Linked DNA regions of Homo sapiens: all the other regions are linked to region 2. The links are contacts of gene promoters, found by promoter capture Hi-C in blood cells and fetal thymus (Javierre and others, 2016). All regions are on one chromosome and are shown on one strand. The core of a region is centred on a gene start or on the middle of the fragment in contact, and the rest is flanking DNA. Distances in the headings are between cores, read along the strand shown.

Region 1 (3,519 bases), core at 1-2,500, 260 kb after region 2:
AGTACTCAGTTTCTGCCTATCATTTTTAGGTCAAAGACCATAAAGATTTAAGTTTCAAGTTTTTTTCACCTTAAGTTTAATATCTATCTAATTTAAATTTTGCTTAAATAGACGAATAAATCTCTTTGTCTTTTTATTCCTTTAAGGGGATGCCAGGGGTCGGAGAGAAAGGTGAACCCGGAAAACCAGGACCCAGAGTAAGTGCTTTCCAAAGTCCTTTTATCATAAAACAATTCTCCTTCCATGCGGAAAATCGCAGATTCACAGAAACACAAGAACAGAAAAGGCTCGTAGGGACTTCTAGTTTATCCCTTTCATGCCCCGAAGGGCTTTTCCGAGACTCTCCTGAGCTATATCAGTTGCAAGGCTTCCCAGGCAGGCGAGGTCCTTCCCTGTTTAAGGATCCAGCACTGAAGGTGCCACCGCCGGCTGTTCAGAGAGGCTTCTGAAGAGCCCTGGGCCATCCCTGAAACCTTCGGTCCTGCTCTGAGAGCAGCAGGTTGGTTGGACTTTGCCACCCAGAACACCAGACAGTGTTTGCACAGCCACAAGCCTGAGAGGCTGAGTTGCTTTTCACTTTAGGGATGGTGGTGGCGTGAGACCCACCCCACTGCCAGTCAGCTGGGATGGTTCTGGTTTCTACCTGGAAGGAGCATGCAGAAACCTGCATTAAATGAAGCATTTGCATAAGCTTGCAAATACTCAGCTGCCAATAGGCAAACTTCTCTAATGTTAGCTTTGCTACCAAGATACAATCATATTTTAGAAGACTTGTAGCTCATCGGACTCTGCTCTTTAAAAATGGAGTTCTCTTATATTGTAACTGTTTCATAATTATTCATCATATACAATATTACTTATTATTGTGGTATTGTCAACTTACATAGAACCCTCATTTACCTTGCTTGTGTTTCATAGGAGAGACAACATATTAAGCTATCTGAATCAGAGCTTTGGTGTTATATCCGTTATTATATATATATACATATATATATATTTGAGACAGAGTCTCACTCTGTTGCCCAGGCTGGAGTGCAATGGTGTGATCTCGGCTCACTGCAACCTCCGCCTCCTGGGTTCAAGTGATTCTCCTGCCTCAGCCTCCCAAGTAGGTGGGACTACAGGTACCTGCCACCACACCCAGCTAATTTTTGTATTTTTAGTGGAGACGGGATTTCGCCATGTTGGCCAGGCTGGTCTCGAACTCCTGACCTCAGGTGATCCACCCACCTCGGCCTCCCAAAGTGCTGGGATTACAGGCATGAGCCACCGCGCGCAGTCTATTATTTATTAAATACTAACGTTTACATCTTTATTCTACAGGGCAAACCCGGAAAAGATGGTGACAAAGGGGAAAAAGGGAGTCCCGTAAGTGTTTCTCTGTGGTTTTTACAAGCAGGCTCACTGTTCCTACCACTGGCCTCTGACGGTTACTGCTTCTCTCTTCGGTTTCAGGGTTTTCCTGGTGAACCCGGGTACCCAGGACTCATAGGCCGCCAGGGCCCGCAGGTAAACGCTGGCACTATTGTGAGCCTTTATCTTCACTTTCCAATTCAACCCAGAAGTCTGTTTATTCTTTCCTAGAATAAAGGACTCTGTACTCAAGGGAAAAAAATCATTTATGCTTCTTCTGGGTAAAAACACAATTTAGTGGTTTCCTTTATGTTCATGATTTTTTACAAAATAAAAATATATGAAATGTGCCATTCATTCAAATTTTTATATCTTTTTTTGGTAGTAGATTATTTTTTTCCTGATCATAAAGCAATAGAAAATACAGAAAGATATCACGAGGTAAAGAAAGCTTACCTAATTTTTTCTGTTACCTGTTCAGAAGTGGCCAGAGTTCGCCTTGTTCCTATGTGCATACACAAGCAGGCAGTTTTTAAAGGTGATAGTGAACAAGACATCTTGCTTTTTCACGTAATGATAGAAGGAGGATCTATTTCAATGGCCGTCAGTGTAATTATGATGTGAACATCCATGCCTTTTGTTGCGTGGTATTTAGGCCATTTCCAAATTTGTATGCTTACAAGTATTTTTGCTCACTTGTCTGGTCATTTCTCTGTCAAATTCCTAAAAGCGTAATATTGGGGTCCACAGTCAGACACTTGTTTTGAAATTTTTGCCACATGCAACCAAATTGCCCCAGAAAGTCCTTCTGCCAGACCAGGGCCCTTTTAGTTGGGGAACTAACTAAAAAAAAAAAAAAATCTAAAAAATATTTGTCAATCTGACAGGCAGAAAAAAAAAACCTCATTATTGCTTTATTTTTCTCTCTTAATATGAGACTAGGTAATGTAAGTCTTTACTAATATAAGAGATAATTTTGGAATAGTCATCACCAAAGGCGAATGGAAAGCTGCGGGGAGGGCCTCAGTAGCCTACGGTTAATTTATTAAAGCCAGGGACAAAAGGAAGAAACCCTTGGCTGTAATTTTTTGAGGAAGTAAAATCCTGTACATTTTAAATGGTAGATATATTTAGAATATAGTGGCTAAGATATTTATGTCCTCTAGATATTTCTAAAATCTTCTGGTATTCATATAAGAAAAATCAAAACATTCAATTCTTGTTTACTGCCTTAATTTAAAAGGAAAATATATACATTCATGGTAAAATGTACATATCTTTGGACTGTTTAAATCATTACGATGACGTTTATATAAAAATATTTGATATGAAAGGGTTAATTTCTTTGAGTTTTTCATCTACTATGGATGAGATTAAACCTTAAAGTGATCAGAATTTATCCACTAATGTTTTCAGTTAATATTAGATTTTACATTATGACCTCCAATGCAAATTTGAGAAAATCTTCACCTAAAAACATCATATAAAATGATTTATTTAAGAAAATGTATTTGGAAATCATGCTTTTATATTATTTTATTTCATTTCTCTTTTTAAAATTGAAAAACCCTGGTTGCCAGTTCCGCTCATCAATGATTCTGTTTTCCGAGGAAGTGTGCAGTTGATGGGACAAGTATCTGGGCTTTTGTAAGGAGAATAATTAGCCCCCAACTTATATTTTGCAGAGATCTTTATTTTCATGTGTCATGCGTGTGCAAAGCAAAATGAAATCTATTCATTTTTGTTGTAATCGTCACAGAATGAGAGATATTAAAGAGAGAAAAATAGTTTTAATTTACTGTAGGCACACTCTATTTTACCAGAAGAAATGTTTAATCTGCTTTCTGCAAGACAATCTTTATAGTAAGAATATGCAAGGAAAGTTATTTTTTCTTTTGTAGGGAGAAAAGGGTGAAGCAGGTCCTCCTGGCCCACCTGGAATTGTGAGTAAGAGTGCTGTCCCTGGGTCTGTGAGAGCGCTGGGGGAGGAAGGAGAGGACCCTGGGTCTGTGAGAGCACTGGGGGGAGGAAGGAGAGGACCCTGGGTCTGTGAGAGCGCTGGGAGAGGAAGGAGAGGAGATGCAGGGCACACACCCACAGCTGTCTCTAGAATTGCATTTGTTATGTAAAGTGGTTCATGCTACTTGAAATGATTTTCTAATTTGT
Region 2 (3,160 bases), core at 661-3,160:
GCCGGTTCTGGAAGGCACATGTACATGCTTGAGCATTTCTCTCTTCCCACCCGCCAGCTCCCCTGCATCAGCCTGGGCCTTCATCTCCAGAACAGCGAAGGCACAGGCTTTTGTGTTCTACTGTGGGTGGAGAAAGAAACACATGATTTTGTTGTTATAATTTAGCATCGGTAAAATGGCTGTTATTTTAAGAGATGCTACGTTGTTAAAGGAAAGGAAGCTAATTTGGACAAGGAAAGAGCCGTGTGCGCCTCAGAAGTCAGGAGAGATTACAGGATTGGGAATGGAGAGGGGCTGCCCTGTGGATGAAAGCACCAGCTGCAGGGTGCGGGGGGGAGCTGGTGGGAGGTGCAGGGATGGGGTGGGGAGGCTGGCAGCAGTGATGCTGGTGTGATCTGCGCACACACCACGGCACGGCTCGGTGCTGTCCCCACGTGCTGGTGGAACAGCCATGCGCATAAGCTCCCGCTCATCTGCTGAGCCACGGGACGAGGCTGGGTGTTCTCATGACAATGAGGCAGCTGCTTATAAGAAATCAAACCCTGCTCTCCACTGACACCACAGCCCCTTCCTTGTCAAAGGCATGACGGAGCGGGGCAGGGACACCGGTCCAGCTCTATTTATGAGACCTTGATTAAGTGGTGTACCCCTGTGTTTTAGCTTTTTTTCACAGGGGAGGGGGACACAAGGCTGTTGCAGAGATCACAGGGCAGATGCCCCAAACTTAGTGGACAGCAGTGGGGATGATGCCACTGGAAGGTGGCACAGGCAGGATCACGAGTTTTCTAAAGGCAGAAGTTGACATTCTTGGTTTAGAGATGCCACCAAACAAGGAAGGCACACAAGCACTGGGAAAGTCCCTACACCCCGAGAATGGGAAGCTGAGGCTGCAAGGTTCTCCCTGACCCTAACCCTCACCCCTACCCCTAACCCTGCTCCGACCACCTGCCCCCAGCTGGGCTGGGACTGGCAGCCAGGCTTGGGAGCCGCAGGGGTGGGTGAACCCCATGGCTGGACAGGTGCACCTCCTGGTCACCAACTTCACAAGGCACCAACTCCAGGGAAGGCCACCACTACCGTAACAAATCCAGACTCAAACGGACCACACACATACACACATGAGCACACCACACACCACACATACACTCACCACCCCCACCCCACATGACACTGAACAGGCCAAAGACTGTTCCAACCACAGGAATCATCACTCATCCTCCTCTTCTGGCTAAAGTGACCAATTATGACTTTGCCTCTTATTTAACCCTGTTGCCTCCCAGATGAGATTTTTAAGATACCCAATCATAGAATTATCTGTGTTCTCTGGCCCCAAAAAACTGCACTTAAATTGTAAAAATGTGGGCCGGGTGTGGTGGCTGATGTCTATAAAACCAGTGCTTTGGGAAGCCAAGGCAGGAGAATCACTTGAGCCCAGGAGTTTGAGACCAGCATGGGCAACATAGAGAGATCTCATCTCTACAGAAAATTTTAAAAATATTAGGTGGGTGTGCTGGTGTGCACCTGTGGTCCCAGGTACTCGGGAGGTTGAGGCAGGAGGATGGCTTGAGTCCAGAAGTTCGAGGCTGCAGTGAGCTTTGATTGTACCACTGCACTCAAGAGTGTTATTACAGACATGACCCACGTTAAAACTAGAGAAGACATGGGTTATGGAATGAGGCAAATAAGCTGCGAATAGAATTCAGGCGTGAGGCTCTGAGGAGGAGAAAGAGGATTATGACTTCAATCGTCCTCCAATGATGCTGAAGTCTTAACCCCCAGGACCTAGACATGTGACCTTATTTGGAAATAAGGTCTTTGAGGGTGCTCAAGGTCAGATGAGGTCTTTAGGATGGGCCCATTCCAATATGACCGCTCTCCCTATAAAAAGGGGAAATTTGGGCCCAGAGACAGACACACAGAGAGGACAGATGATGAGAAGACAGAGAGAAGACAGCCGTCTATAAGCCAAGGAATGCCAGAGCTCCGGGAACCTGGGAGAGAGGCAGGGACAGATCCTCCCGCACTGTCTCAGAAGGAACCAGCCCTGCAGACACCTTGATGTCGGCTTTCAGCCTCCAGAGCTGTGAGACCATACATTTCTGATGTCTAAGCTGCCCAGTCTGTGGCAGTTTGTGACCTCAGCCCCAGGAAACCAGTACAAAGAGCTTAAGGAGGTACAGGCTTGGTGACTAGAGGGAGGAAAATGGAATCTAGAAAAAAAGACGTGAGAAATAAGGTTGCAAGGTCCTTCTGAGAAGAGAATGCTCCAGAGCTGGCAGTGGGAAAGGCGTGGTGGCAGGAGAGGCTCAGAGGCTGGAGGGTGCACAGGAAGGGGTCTTGTCTCCCTCCATGGCTGCCTCCCGCGCCTCTGACCCCAGCCTCCCCTGAGGAAATGATGCTGGGGTCTCTGCAGGCTACTAGGTAGCCCCTCCTTCAACACCAGTGTGTGTTTGTTGCAAAAATGAAATTGTATATTTCATGATTTACCTTGGAAAAATAGGGTTCCACCACCCATTTTAGAATAGTCTACTTTTTTTGGCGGGGGAGGGTTCTTAGTCTGTTACACCAGGAGGAATATTTCTTTGATTGTTGACTTTTAAATGTTCATTTGGAGCTTGGCTTCTAACTTAATTCACCGTTTCCTAAAAAGTCTGATTTCTGCTCATTAGAAATAGAATGAGCAGAATGAGCAGCCTGTCCTATGCACAGGTTGGTTTAGTGCTCATGTCAATACTGTTTGCTTCTGGGGTGTTTGGAGAACCTGAAGGATGAAGAAGAGAGGACGGAGCTGCCGCAGTTTGTGGCTACTCACGGGAGGGCCTGGGAGGCCGGGGAATCCATCGAGCCCATCGCGGCCTGGGCTGCCATCGTCACCTTTCATCCCGGGCACACCTGGGACGCCGGGCTGTCCCCGCTCACCTAGAAAGGGATTTGCATGTGAAGCTGCCCAGGCAGGTGCCCACAGGAAGGCTCAGTGCCCCAGGGGCCGCGTGGCCAGAGAGGAACTCACCTTTGGTTGTGATTGTTCTGGAATCTCCTTTTGCTCCTTTGGGTCCGGGAGCACCAATGTTGCCAGGCACTCCCTGTGGAAAACAGACAAAAAAATATCTTCCTTCTTTGTACTGTGAGGGCATCTGAGAAGATGGCTGGCAAGCTTTTT
Region 3 (3,655 bases), core at 578-3,077, 350 kb before region 2:
CAGTATCCTAAACATACCTCACATTGTTTTTGTTTGTTGTTCTTTTTTTTTTCTTTTTACTTCTTCACATTAGTTTTTTTAACTTTCTATATTGGAAATTGTTTCATTTCAGCACATATAGCGCATCCTCACTCTTTGAAATGGCTTCATAGCATTTTATTGTATGGCAGTACAAATATTTGTTGAACCATCCCCACTAACAGACATTAAATTATTTCCGTTATCTTGCTTTGACAAATACCACCGTGCTCAGTGCACTTGTGCAGGAGTCGTTCTGCACCCTTGGGGTAGATCCATAGGCTAAACACCTAGAGTTGCTGGGTTGAAGACGTCATGCGTATTAAATTTTGTTAGCTGTCGTCAAAGAACCTTCCATGGAAATTTTACCTGTTTACAGTTCCAGCAGCAAAGATAAACTGCGCATTTCCCCCCACCCCCCCGCCCCAACCATCTTTACAAATACAGTGTGGGAACAAACTTTATTTGTACTATTCCTTGCCAATCTGATAAGCAAACAAAATTGTATTTCAGTGTTGTTTTAGTTTGCGTTCTTATTGTAAGGAGTTTGAGCACCAAGGAACTGGTTATGTATGTGTGTACAGTTTTCAGGTACTTTTTAAATTAAGTTACTGTCCTTTTTAAATATTGATTTTTAGGAATCAATATTTAAAACACACAACACAATTAACTGTTTTGGCCGTTTTCCTTTGATGTGAAGTACATGAATTTTTCCTAATTTATTATCATTTAATTTTGTTTCTGGTGATGTTTGCCATTCAGGAATATCTTAGTTTGAGGGGTGGGGAGTTGATCAAATTTCTCAATCTTTTCTTTTCTGGCTTAAAGATTTTGTGTCAGAATTAAAAAGGTCCTTTCTGAATCAGAGATTATTTAATAATTCTCCCAGTTTTTTCTGTTACTTTTAAGGTTTCATTTTTTTCATGTGTAAATTTTCCATCCATACGAAATTTACTTTGTAAATGTGAGTGGTTGGAATCCAGCTTTCTCTTTCAGATGATAATACACTTCTCCCACTGATTTCAAATGCCACTTTATTACGTAATAATATGGCATCTATTTTCTGGACTTCCTAGGTAGTTCCATCCCTCTATTCATGAACTAATGCCACATTATAATATGTTTTAATACATGGGAAACTTTATTGTTTTATTTTTCAGTATTTTCCTGGGTTTTCTTGATTGCTTAATATCTATACTACTATTTTAAATAATTTTCTATTTTCAAAAATTATATACTCACATAGTTCAAAATAAAAATAAATCAAAATGAGAGCCAATGAAATAAATCTCCCAGTCATTCCCCCAGTCATCCTATTTCCTTCCCAGGGAGCAGCCAATGGACTCCATTTCTCCTGCATCTTTCCAGAGACAGTTCATGTAAATCTCATATGTATGTGTCTTATAAAGTTTATAATTGGTTTTTCTCATTTTAAAAAATCCTCAACACTTCTCGTATTTTAAATGGGATCAAGCTTAACTTATAAATAAACTACAGAGAAGTGATTTCTGTATGATGAGGTAGATTCCTACCCGTGAACATACTATGGTTTTCCACTTGTTTTATCCTCTTCTTTATCTTGAAGTACTTTGAAGTAGTAGTAATATCCTGCAGTATTCCGAGTAGTTGTTGTTATTATAAAAGTTGTCCTTTATTCCATCAGATCTTCTGTTTGTAGTTGGCATAAATGGTTGTTAATTTTTGCCTATTAATTACACATATAATACATGAGATCCTACCCACCTTATTAAATTCTCTCAATTGCATGAAATTCTAATTAAAACAAGCTGCCGTTCTAGGACTCTGATGCCTTCTGTGTAGGGTGGCAGGAACGAATAAACAAGGAATGATTACATCTTGGAAAATACAGCACTTTACTGGCAGTCATATTCTGAGAACAACATACCACACAAACCAGGAGACCCCCAGGGACCCCCTGAGATCAAGCCCTCTCTGGCACACATAGCCCACTGCCCACTGTATCATAAGATTTGGTTTTTGCAGTTTGACCATGGTGTGTTTAGATTTCTTCTTATTGAGGCTGCTTAGGTTTTGTGGAGTTTCTTCAGACCTGCAGTGATTATATATAGCAAGGTTTGAGAAGAAACAGAAATGGATACTCTGAGTCATTTTGGAAAAGCTTACCAGGATCCTCAAGTTCTTTCCCTAGAAAGGTCTTGAAAAATCAATATAAATTCTTGACCACGTTTTTGGGTTACTTCCAACTGGAAAATCAGGTACTTTTTCTGGGCTCTACCAATGCTTCGCTTATTTTATGGCAATTTTTTTTTTTTTGTCTCTCCATCTGAACCTGTGCCAAGCCACCAGGCACCACTGCTCTCCAATGTCCACTTAACGAATCCCCCGCAGCTTGGACAATATTCCACAACCATTTCTTGGAAAGTGTATCATGACTTCTGCCTAAAAGTAACTTTTTATGTGGTGAAAACTTAAGCATATGGTTTGTCATTGGCACAGCTTTCCTTGGTCATGGTCTAATGCAGACCAAACTGGAAATAACCAAAGTTAGTGATTCTATTTGGTCATCCTCAAATGCTCAAGTGAATGAGGTCTTTTAGTGACAAAACTGCCAATGGAGGTAACAGCTACTCGCACATCCTTGACCAACACAGGATCCTCTCTCCCTGGCACCATCATCCTCATTGGCTTGTTCTCAGCTTCAGGAGATACTTTAGTAGCAGAAGAGGAGGGGGACCAGTCAAGCCAGGGGCAGGGCATGGGTTGGCAAATGGAGTTGAACAACTTGGGCTGTCTGTGTATGGACAATGGCCTCTCCCAGCCACATGTTCACAGCCCCCACCTGCCTGGGCCTAGGTCTCAGGTTCCCCTCCAGGTCCTGGTGCAGCCACTGTCCAGCACCATATGGGGCAGCCTCCCCAGATCTGGAGGGGGCTCCACATGCATTTGGGAGCCACACACACTCTGTCCTCTTGGACAGTGTGAGGCTTGTGTGCAAAAGCACCAGGACAGGTATGCCTGTGCTTGTATTAGAGTTTCAAAGCAGTCTCAAACATACACCCTGAGCTGCTCAGAATGGTAGGCATTCATTTATTTATTTTTGTTTATTTTAATCTAGGACAGCTGCAGAAAAAAATATATTCTCAATGCTAAATATACTCTTCCTGTTTAAGTATGGGTTAAGTTACAGAAGCAAACTAAAGTCCTCCTTCATCAGAAAGAAGGGAGAAGAAGAAATGAAAGAATCAAATGGGAATAGGCCTATGTGCTTTAAACACACATGTGATCTCATTTAACTTTCTGGATGGCCAAATGAAAAGGGCATTTTACTCTATTTTACAAATAAAGAAACCAAGATCTAGAGTAGTTTAGTGACTTGCCCAAGAAAGTAGGAGAACCAAGATATGAGCTCAGGTGCATCCAATCACAAAAACTTCCCAAGACTCCATTACAGCTTTTTAATAAGTTCTTTTGCATATGAGCAGAGAGATAAAGAACAAATACTTCCAAAGCAGAGGCAGTCCCAAGGCACCACTGAGAGTTTGGAAAGGGACCTCCAGCCACTTCCCAGGGGAATTTTGGACCCTGGCACCACTTCATAGGGAAGGTCTGAACCCCGGTTGTGCACCTTGGACAGGGGGGCTCTGAGCGCCCTGCT
Region 4 (3,591 bases), core at 1,092-3,591, 280 kb after region 2:
ATCTAAAGTTAATAGTATTCATGTCATTGTTTTCAAAAGATTCCAGGTATCAACATCTCATTCTCTAAAGTATCTCCCTAAGTAGATGAGGGAGGAAGAATGCTCAGCTTAGGGAGAAGAATGCTGGTTTCACTTATTAACTACAAGGTGGCCCTCCTGGGAGGGTAGATGAAGTAAATAAATAGTGTGAGCCAGTTAACTCTAGTACTTATTGACCACAAATGTCAGAAGAATGCGATAAGGACAGGGTGTTGGTGTGTCTCTGATAACGGTGTCTTTTTCTTCTTCTCACATCAGGGTTCTGTAGGATTGAAAGGAGAGCGTGGCCCCCCTGGAGGAGTTGGATTCCCAGGCAGTCGTGGTGACACCGGCCCCCCTGGGCCTCCAGGATATGGTCCTGCTGGTCCCATTGGTGACAAAGGACAAGCAGGCTTTCCTGGAGGCCCTGGATCCCCAGGCCTGCCAGGTGAGGCCTGAGAAACTCGTGATGCAGCATGAAGTTGTAAACGGAGGTTAGGGCAGGCACCTCGGGTGCACACAGAGGCCTGGGGTTCGCATAGGCCAGGGCGCACACTTGGCTTTGATTCTTCCAGGAATTGGGGCAGGACCTGGGCAAGCCTTCAGCCTTTTGTGCCTCCCTTTCCTCATGTATGTGATGGGCCAGGTAATATGCAGGTGGAGAACTTGGGTTTACAGTCCTCATAAGTAAGTACACAGCACGCACCAGCTAAAGTCAGCCTTTGTATAGAAGTCACACCGAGGTCAAGTCATTTTCCTCTCCTTACCCATTTGGCTTTCCCCGATGAGCAGCCCATTTTGGCTTCTGTGCATCCCGAGTGGTGTGATCTCCACCTCTTCACAGTCGGCAGACGCCTGTGAATGGATTTAGAGGTCCTACAGCGCGATGACGATTTCATTCCATGGTGGTTTTAGTTGTCTGCTGTTTTTGGAGTGAATCACGCGCCAAGCTCTATGCTGAGCATTGACAACACATGGTCAAAACCACAGACGTGGTCCCTGCCCTCCTGCACAGCCTGTTCAGAGGTTTTCCAGAGAACCTGTAGCAGGGATGAGTGTGGGCTCCCTCGTCGTTCTCCTCTCCCACGACTTGCTTATTTTCAGGGCCAGCGGGAGGGGGCTGTGGCGCTAGGCCTTGCACACAGCAGGTGCTAATAGTTTATTATCTGACTGCGATTCCCAGTAGACATGGAGCACGCCTGTTCTTCCCTAGAAAATCCCGGAATGAGAAGAGGAGAGGCTAGGAATGCCTTGTGTGTAGATGAGGGAAGTAAATGCGCGTTGCTAGGAAACATTCAAAAGTTGTAAAAGTGAGTGAAAGGACTTAAGGTGATTAAAAATATCTAACTAGTAAACCTTAAAAAACATAGTTATTTATAAAGTAGCTGGGGCCAGGTGCGGTGGCTCACGCCTGTAATCCCAGCACTTTGGGAGGCAGAGGCTGGCAGATCACAAGGTCAGACATTGGAGACCAGCCTGGCCAATATGGTGAAACCCCATCTCTACTAAAAATACAAAAGTTAGCTGGGCATGGTGGCAGGCACCTATAGTCCCAGCTACTCTGGAGGCTGAGGCAGGAGAATCGCTTGAACCCGGGAGGCAGAGGTTGTAGAGAGCCAAGATCTCGCCACTGCACTCCAGCCTGGGTGACAGAGTGAGACTCCGTCTCAAAAATAAATAAATAAATAAATAAATAAAGTAGCTGGATATTTGAAATACCCAACAATAACCACGTTGGAGCAATTACAGCATGCCGTTCTGGCTCGCAAGTGTGCTGATTATGTCAATAACCATATTGAGCCTGTTTTATGAATTCCTATTCCCATTAGGGACTAATATTTCCTTATTAATATACAGTGTATAGGCTGGGCACGCTGGCTCATGCCTGTAATCCCAGCACTTTGGGAGGCCAAGGTGGGCAGATCACCTGAGGTCAGGAGCTCGAGGCCTGCCTGGCCAACATGGTGAAACCCTGGCATCTGTAATCCCAGCTACTTGGGAGGCTGAGGCAGGAGAATTGCTTGAATCCAGGAGGCGGAGGTTGCAATGAGCTGAGATCGTGCCATTGCGTTCCAGCCTGGATGACAGAGCAAGACACTGTCTCAAAAACAAACAAACAAACAAACAAAACACACACACACACACACACACAGTCCAGTTCCTAAGCATTCCAGTATGGGAAATGTCAGCCAGTGTTTGATGGAAGCCCAGGTGTAGTGTGCTAACATAACTGTTACTCTTATCCTTCTCCCTGTTGGTATAATCAGTGAGTACTTAGCATCAAGTTCTGACTCTGTTGATGGTTGTTCTTTGTTTAGAAGCGTCCCAGAAATGTCTCTTTTATGACTCCATTAGAGGTAGGGGATACCGGGTTTGATGGAGGAGGACTTCGGTGAGCCAGGCATAGGGACTTCCGATCACTTTCCCTTGGGTCTCTTGATTCCACAATCAACAAATCAAGTGCTGTCTTTGTGCTTGTGACATCTGCAGATTTCCAGAGCTGTCGAAGGGAATTAGCTTTTCTTTTGGCGAGAAACTACCATCAGAGAAACCAACTGGAGTACTCACAAATATACCCTAGCAGATGGGGAAGAAGGCTTCTGGGGAGGGGGAACAGGGCTGTTGATCCTCTCTCCCCACAGCTGTAGGGCTCCTTGGCCATCCAGAGCCAATTAGCTTCGAGATTAGAAAACAGATGTCTTTGATCTGCCAGAGCTGTGTGTAACTGTGGTAATCATAAAAGCCTGGTGCCCAGGGTGTGTGTCACCAACAGCAGGCATTTCCTAGGGTCGTTCAGTTGGCGTTTCCCACAGTCTGTAGCTAAAGAATGTGCTGGCTGTTCTAGGGAGGCCCCACATAGCTTGAACTCTTACGAGGTGTACGAAGATTCAGTGCGTGCATTCTTGGAGGGGAAGCCTTTGGTCCTTTCTTAACAGCGAAACCCTGACACTCCGGTGGCTCTCCTAGGCATGAGTGCCCAGAGGGCCGGGGCTGTGCTTCCTGGCTTGGGAGGAAGGATGGTTTTGCCTGTGTTGCTCAAGTGAGCGCAGAGCTCTCCAGCTGCACCATTACAGATAATGGATCGTTCGTAATCACCCGCGGATCATGTTGTTTGGATAATTTCCCACCAAACGACCGTAATTTAGGTCAATCTCAAAGCAACTTAGACTTTGGTAAATTGAGAGAGAACAGCAAAAGTATTTTGACTTTTTGAGACCGGCTCACTAAGAAATCACCTAGAGCCACCTCACATGTTGTTGTTGTAGATTTTTCAGCTTCTTGTGACTCTTAATTGTGGACTCTTAAGGGATTCTTGTGTCCAACAAACATCTTGGTCATTTTGGACATGCAAACGCATGGGGAGAAGCGTAGCTCTCTGTGAAAGATCCTAGAAACACCAAGGGAAGAAGTGGAGAACACAGGCAGAGGCTCTGCTCTCCGGGCACTCGTGGTGCTGGGTAGGATGTGGCGTGCAGCCCACCCACTGCGTGTCCTCCCTGTGTTCCGTGTGGTCCTCATTCCTTCATCGTTTGTCTTTGCTCTTTTTTTCCTCTAGGTCCAAAGGGTGAACCA

What was found. Contacts are between HindIII fragments. The CHiCAGO score rates a contact against its expected background, and 5 or more counts as called.
Region 1: a fragment that was not itself captured here is called in contact with the fragment with the promoter of COL4A2-AS2 in region 2 in 1 of 17 cell types (endothelial precursors); the score reaches 15.3 in endothelial precursors.
Region 3: a fragment that was not itself captured here is called in contact with the fragment with the promoter of COL4A2-AS2 in region 2 in 3 of 17 cell types (naive B cells, total B cells and activated CD4 T cells); the score reaches 6.5 in naive B cells.
Region 4: a fragment that was not itself captured here is called in contact with the fragment with the promoter of COL4A2-AS2 in region 2 in 1 of 17 cell types (endothelial precursors); the score reaches 6.5 in endothelial precursors.

What each region holds. Positions count from the first base shown.
Region 1 is chr13:110,203,343-110,206,861 of GRCh38, reverse strand. COL4A1 (collagen type IV alpha 1 chain) reads left to right here. Exons shown (of 52, transcript NM_001845.6): 15 at 147-197; 16 at 1,324-1,368; 17 at 1,456-1,509; 18 at 3,255-3,296. Among named protein-coding and RNA genes, the nearest start is that of LINC03082, 76 kb to the right of the region's middle. The HindIII fragment of the contact is 1,113 bases long and covers 694-1,806 here.
Region 2 is chr13:110,462,037-110,465,196 of GRCh38, reverse strand. It overlaps COL4A2-AS2 (COL4A2 antisense RNA 2), which reads left to right and starts at 1,910. Exons shown (of 5, transcript NR_171022.1): 1 at 1,910-2,174. It overlaps COL4A2 (collagen type IV alpha 2 chain), which reads right to left. Exons shown (of 48, transcript NM_001846.4): 23 at 3,011-3,083; 24 at 2,813-2,919. The HindIII fragment of the contact is 13,540 bases long and covers 1-3,156 here.
Region 3 is chr13:110,806,906-110,810,560 of GRCh38, reverse strand. It overlaps LINC00567 (long intergenic non-protein coding RNA 567), which reads left to right. Exons shown (of 1, transcript NR_135280.1): 1 at 1-885. Among named protein-coding and RNA genes, the nearest start is that of LINC00567, 4.4 kb to the left of the region's middle. The HindIII fragment of the contact is 666 bases long and covers 1,495-2,160 here.
Region 4 is chr13:110,183,260-110,186,850 of GRCh38, reverse strand. COL4A1 (collagen type IV alpha 1 chain) reads left to right here. Exons shown (of 52, transcript NM_001845.6): 26 at 298-466; 27 at 3,575-3,591. Among named protein-coding and RNA genes, the nearest start is that of LINC03082, 56 kb to the right of the region's middle. The HindIII fragment of the contact is 9,885 bases long and covers 1-3,591 here.